Regions from separate parts of the Homo sapiens genome. Here region 2 is linked to region 1. The links are contacts of gene promoters, found by promoter capture Hi-C in blood cells and fetal thymus (Javierre and others, 2016). All regions are on one chromosome and are shown on one strand. The core of a region is centred on a gene start or on the middle of the fragment in contact, and the rest is flanking DNA. Distances in the headings are between cores, read along the strand shown.

Region 1 (3,173 bases), core at 444-2,943:
CAATGTTGATGGACACAGAATGTGTAAGAAGAGGTCCCTGACCCAATTCCATCTGGACACTGCACCCCAGATGGTATGTGAGAGGCTTTAGAGGCCAGATGGGGGAGGAAGGAAAGCAGTTCTCTTTCATAGCTCCCTCTCCTAGTCCCTAGATGCTTCCTTCATTTCCACAAGAAATTCTTGCATTCAGCAAATATTTATAGACCACTTCCTGTGTGCCAGGCACTGCTTTAGATACAATGGTGAATGAATAAGGCAGACAAAAATTCTTCCTTTATGATAATTCTTTTCTGTTGAGGGAGGCAAAAAGAGGTAAACATAATGTAAAAGAACAGATATAGCCGGGCACGGTGGCTCACGCCTGTAATCCCAGCACTTTGGAAGGCCAAGGCGGGCAGATCACCTGAGGTCAAAAGTTCAAGACCAGCCTGACCAACATGGACAAACCGCATCTCTACTAAAAATACAAAATTAGCCAGGTGTGGTGGCGCATGCCTGTAATCCCAGCTACTGGGGAGGCTGAGGCAGAAGAATCGCTCTAGCTCGGGAGGTGGAGGTTGCAGTGAGCCAAGATCACACCACTGCACTCCAGCCTGGGCAACAAGAGCAAAACTCTGTCTGAAAAAAAAAAAAAAAAAAAAAAAAAAAAAGCCAAATTGGCCAGGTAGGGCAGCTCACGCCTGTAATCCCAGCATTTTGGGAGGCCGAGGTGGGCAGATCACCTGAGGTCAGGAGTTCAAGACCAACCTGACCAACATGGTGAAATCCCATCTCTACCAAAAATACCAAAATTAGCCGGGAGTGGTGGCGTGCGCTTGTAATCGCACCTACTCGGGAGGCTGAGGCAGGAGAATCGCTTGAACCGAGTAGACGCAGGTTGCAGTGAGCCAAGTTCGTGCCACTGCACTCCAGCCTGGGCGACAGAGTGAGACTCCGTCTCTCTCTCTATATATATATTTTAAGGGTAGGGATTTTTGTGTTTTGTGCAGCGTGCTTTCTCAACCCGTAAAGTGCCTGATGGCTGGATACGGTGGGTCACGCCGGTAATCCTAACGCTTTGGAAGGCCGAGGCGGGAGGATCGCTTAGAGACCAGGAGTTCGAGTCCAGCCTGGGTAACACAGCAAGACCCCATCTCTATAAAATGCATATATATATCCAGGAGTAGCGGTGCGCATCTGTAATCCCAGCTACTCGGGAGGATGAGGCGGGAGAATCGCTTGAACCCAGGAGGCGGAGGTTGCAGTGAGCTGAGATCGCGCTACTGCACTCCAGCCTGGGCCATAGAGTAAGACCCTGTCTCAAAAATTTAAAAAAAAGAAAAAAAAAATTTAAAGAAAAGAAATACCTGACACAGAAAAAGCGTTCAATAAATATTTCTTGCATGAATAAAAGTACTTTCGCTGGGACATTTTTCTCCACACCTACCCTCCAGCCAGCCCCGGGATCTATAACACTCTCTCCGAGTGAAGACACAGAGGTGATGAGATCGGGTAACCCACGGGCGCCCGAGCCCCAGCCGCGCAAGCTCACGATTGGGCCAGAAGTGAGGATGAACAAGCATTTAGCCCAATAGAAAGTCGTAGTTCTCTTGCTGGGCGTGGCTTGAATGACTTCAGTGGCCTCCTCCTGGGAGGGAGCTGAAGCCGCTCGCAAGACTCCCGTAGTCCCCACCTCTCTCAGCTTCCGGCTGGTAGTAGTTCCGCTTCCTGTCCGACTGTGGTGTCTTTGCTGAGGGTCACATTGAGCTGCAGGTTGAATCCGGGGTGCCTTTAGGTGAGTGTGGAGGGTTCTGTAACCTGGGACCCCAGTCTAGCGGGCTGAGGAGCCGGACCCCAGCTTCCCTGAGAACGGGTTGAGGCTTCCGGCTGGCGGCGTCCGGCCTCCCTGGACCCCGGGGCCCTGTTCTGTTCATCGTAAGAGCTAACAATGATACGGTTCTTCCTTGATGCCAGGCAACATCCCAAACAACTTTAATTAATTTATTTAACTCTCCCACCAGCCCTATGAGATAGGGCCTGCGATTATCCCCTTTTGTCAGTAAACAGGCTCAGAGATACCAAGCGACCTAGCTGAACCTACACAGCGACCAGGATTTGGCCCAGGAGTTTGTCCTCCAGGGCTCTTCATGGCTAATTCACAGGCGTGGCCTCTCGCGGCTTGCCTGGGCCGCAGCCTGGCTCCCGGGTGTCCAGTCCATCCTCCCTTTTGGACGTTGGAGGGGCCGCAGCGTCATCTCCGATGCACCCTCATCCTCAGATACCGGGTAGAGATCTCGCCGGTAACGATCCTTCCTACTGCGTCTGTGCCCCAGCAGCTGGTGTTTTACACCCCACTTCCCCACCGAAAGACTGTTTTAGTGCTCCAGACCCCCACCACCACCTTGCGTCGCTTGAATTTGACACTGCTCTGCAAGTCTCTGTATAGCCCCACGACTCCTAGGATTCCCTGGAATATAGATACTTTTCTCTCAGGCTCCCGACGAACACTGTCACTTCTTCAGAGACATTATATTAAAGGTGTTTAACCCTGGGTCCGCAGAGTTGGTAGAATTCAAGGAATGCTAGTACTTGAATTGGGGTGGGGGGTGGAATTGCATCTGTGTTTTTACTAACCTTTTGAGGCAGCAACCTCGGTAGTACTAGCAGCAGCGGTGATTTTGTTAGCAATGAAAATCATAGACATTCCTTTTTTTTGTTTTTCTCCTTTTTTGAGACAGGGTCACTGTGTCACCCAGGCTGGCGTGCAGTGGAGAAATCTTGGCTCACTGCAACCTCTGCTTCCCTGTGCAAGCGATCCTGCCTCAGTAGCTGGGACCACAGGCACGCGCCACCACACCTGGCTAATTTTAATTTTTTTTTTTTTTTTTGAGACAAGATCTTGCTGTATCGCCCAGGCTGGAGTACAATGGCACAATCTCGGCTCACTGCAACCTCCGCCTCTTGGGTTCAAGTGATTCTCCTGCCCCAGCCTCCCTGGTAGCTGGGATTACAGGTGCACGCCACCATGCCCAGCTAATTTTTTGTATTTTTAGTAGAGATGGGGTTTCACCATATTGGCCAAGCTGGTCTTGAACTCCTGACCTCAGGTGATCCACCCACCTCGGCTTCCCAAAGTGCTGGGATTACAGGCGTGAGCCACCTCTTCCGGCCAATTTTAATATTTTTTTTGTAGA
Region 2 (3,214 bases), core at 459-2,958, 210 kb before region 1:
CACATCTGGCTAATTTTTGTATTTTTTTGTAGAGATCAGGTGTCACCATGTTACCCAGGCTGGTCTTGAACTCCTGAGCTCAAGCAATCCACCTGCCTTGGTCTCCCACCAAGTGCTGGGATCATAGGCATGAGCCAACACACCCAGCCACAATGCCTGTCTTGTGATGCTCTATCCCCAACCATCCATGGAGAGATGAAAATGCATGATCTGGTTGTTACCTTGCACTCAGCTGCCTAATCCAAGAGACATGCAGGTGACTTTGAGAAGGCTGGGGCTGTCCTGGGCCCACAGAATTCAGACAGAAGACACTGGGGAAAGGAGAGGAGGTGGGACAGGGACCAGACACAGAGCACTGGAAAGGAGAGGATGTGCAGGAGCAAGAGCTGAGCCGGATTTTCCAGACGGCGGCAGACTCTGGGGGGCTGCCTGGACTTGGGGCATTTTTTCTGGGCTGGCCCTGGACTTAGAGAATATTTTTGTGATTTAGCGGCCCCAATTTTTGTGAAATGTCCTCTGCTGACTGAGAGATTAACCTGCTTTGACTGGGCCATGCTAAAAAATGAACAGGAATTTGATATAGTCCAGTGTGGAGGTGGAGAGGGAGGGAGGTGAAGAAAGAACAGAAGGAAGGGGTAAGACACACTGAGGAGCAGATGGAAGTTACCTGAGGGGATCCTCCAAAGAAGAAAGGGTGGGCTATGCAAACAGTGGATGTAAAAAGACGCCTGGAAGAAGTTAGGACTTGGATTTCTAGGAGAGATTAATTCGACTTGTAGGAGCAGGGATTTGGGGAGAGGCAGAGGGCTCTGCTGCCTCTGAAAGAGCTCACCGAGTGCGCTCCCTCTCTCTGACTAAGGACCCCTGTGGATAAGAAAGCTCTCTGCCCTAGAGAAGAAGAGCAGTCAAGGTGCTTACAGGCTCTTTCCCGAAGACTGAAGACCTTTCCCAGGGTGGACTGTGGTGCCCTTCCCTGTGCAGGCACCCTGACCACTGTGTGTTCAGAGAAGAGGGATGTGGCACACACACCTGAGAAGCACTGGGACTCCTGCGAGACCAAGTGGGAGGTTGCCACTCCTGGGGACCATCTGATGGGAAGCAGCGGTGAAGAAAAGGGAATGGCGTCTGGATGTGGATGGAGGCAGGTGCTTCTACTGCTGCCCGGCCAGAGAGGAGCATCCCCAGAGGGTCCGTCCCTAGCCAGGCTGGAAGCTTGTCTCTGCGCATCTGGTCCCCTCTCGAAGCAGTTCTCAAAAGCCGTTGAGACACACTGCTGGGATGTGGCAACACACCAAGAGGCAAGAAATGTAAGTCCATGGTTCCTGGTAATACTGAAAAAACTAGGCTTTGGAAGTTTAAGTAAACAAAGAAATGAGAGGATATAAGGTAAGCTGTTACAACGTCACTGTCAGTTATGAGTATTCTGTTATGCTTTCTTTTGAGCCAGTCTCGCTCTTTTGCCCAGGCTAGAGTACAGTGGCATGATCTCGGCTCACTGCAACCTTTGCCTCCCGGGTTCAAGCGATTCTCCTGCCTCAGCCTCCTGAGTCACTGGGATTACACATGCCCGCCACCACACCCAGCTAAATTTTTTTGTATTTTAGTACAGACAGGGTTTCACCATGTTGCCCAGGGTGGTCTCAAACTCCTGAGCTCAGGCAATCCGCCCACCTCAGCCTCGCAAAGTGCTAGGATTACAGGTGTGGGCCATCATGCCTGGCCCCCATTACACTTTCTAGAGAGAGGAAGAAGTACTAACCTCACAGTGCAGACTGGAGACTGCACAGCACATGCGCAGATGGTCTTGACAGAGGATGCCTCCCTCTGTGCTGGGGAACTCATCCTTGCCCATTCAGTTTCCGTGGCTCAAGCAGGCTGATGTCAGCCCTTGGCGATGCTGTTGGCGTGTGTGACCCACAAATCATTCAGAGGCAGCAGAGCCAGCCTGGAGATCCGGGCTGTGACTTCAGGACAGGAGACCCTCTCTCTGCACAGGTTATTATCCTAAACTGCCAAAGGTCACTGCGTGAAGCAATTTTACTAAGAGCCACCAAACCCCTCTCTTCCCTCCAACCAAGTTCATTCACCCTTCTCAGAAGAGCCCAAGAGACCTCTGTGAGAGTAAGACAGGAGTTGGCGATGGTGCAATTTGCAGAACGCCATGTTTGTTAGCGCCTTGTCTTCATGTGGCCGGAGGGCACTCCTGAAGCTTCAAACTCCTGTAAAAACGCTTCCTGTCCAGGGAGGGTGGTATGGGAAGTCTGAGGTGGCTGGGAGAGGAACTGGCGAAGTAAGGAGTTGGAGCAGGAGTCAGAGAGACATGGGATGGGGAAACTCACAAGCAGACTCCACCCCAGTCAGGGAACCTCACTCACCGTTCCATTAAGGGCTGGAAAAGGAGGCACCGACAGGTGTCTCACAGAAGCGAATGGTAGCTGTTCAGGAGGCTGGACCCAGGAAAAAGGACATAAAATCGGGGAGGTGCCTCACCCTAATTTTTCTCAACTCCAGCAGAACCTTCTTAGAGAGCCTCACTCAATTCCACATTTCTCCTCCTCTCAGACAAGCCCGGCAGCTCCGTCCACGTCCTTTGCTGAATGGAGCCAGCGTGGTCACTTCTGCCCTATCGAGGAAGCTGAAGGCCCTGGCCCATCTCTGACAGCTCAGGGCACAGGAAAGCCTTGCCTCTGCCTAGTCTGCCCTCTGCTTCCCCACCAGCGTCATCTGTGGCCCACGGCTCTTGGCTGGACCTGCACTGAAGGACACAGCTGCTCCGAGCTACACAACAGGGTGGCTGTCCCTCCGCCCTCCATGTGTGGTGGCTGCTGCAGCAGGATACAGCCAGCCTCCTGGCTGCTATCCCACAGTGCTATGGTTGATTGCGTTCTTACACTGGAAGATAAACAGTGCTTGTGTCAAAGAAAATAGAAACAAGGCCGAGCATGGTGGCTCATGCCTGTAATCCCAGCACTTTGGGAGGCGGAGGTGGGCAGATCACTTGAGGTCAGGAGTTTGAGATCAGCCTGTCCAACATGGCGAAACCCCATCTCTACTAAAAATATAAAAATTAGCTGGGTGTGTTGGCATGCGCCTGTAACCCCAGCTACTCGGGAGGCAGAAGCAGAAGAATTGCTTGAAACCGGGAGGCAGAGGTTGTAGTGAGCCAAGATCGCACCACTGCACTCCAGCCTGGGAGTGCTCATATGAGCACTCA

Evidence for each region. The method cuts DNA at HindIII sites, captures the fragments that hold promoters and counts their contacts. A CHiCAGO score of 5 or more calls a contact.
Region 2: a fragment that was not itself captured here is called in contact with the fragment with the promoter of COX6B1 in region 1 in 1 of 17 cell types (neutrophils); the score reaches 5.1 in neutrophils.

The regions. Positions count from the first base shown.
Region 1 is chr19:35,646,630-35,649,802 of GRCh38, forward strand. COX6B1 (cytochrome c oxidase subunit 6B1) reads left to right here and starts at 1,694. Exons shown (of 4, transcript NM_001863.5): 1 at 1,694-1,774. RefSeq lists enhancers at 1,686-1,745, 1,906-1,955. The HindIII fragment of the contact is 14,427 bases long and covers 1-3,173 here.
Region 2 is chr19:35,431,830-35,435,043 of GRCh38, forward strand. It overlaps LOC101927522 (a long non-coding RNA gene), which reads right to left and starts at 2,824. Exons shown (of 7, transcript NR_187751.1): 1 at 2,491-2,824; 2 at 1,760-2,009; 3 at 1,030-1,273. RefSeq lists an enhancer at 1,065-2,264. The HindIII fragment of the contact is 997 bases long and covers 1,211-2,207 here.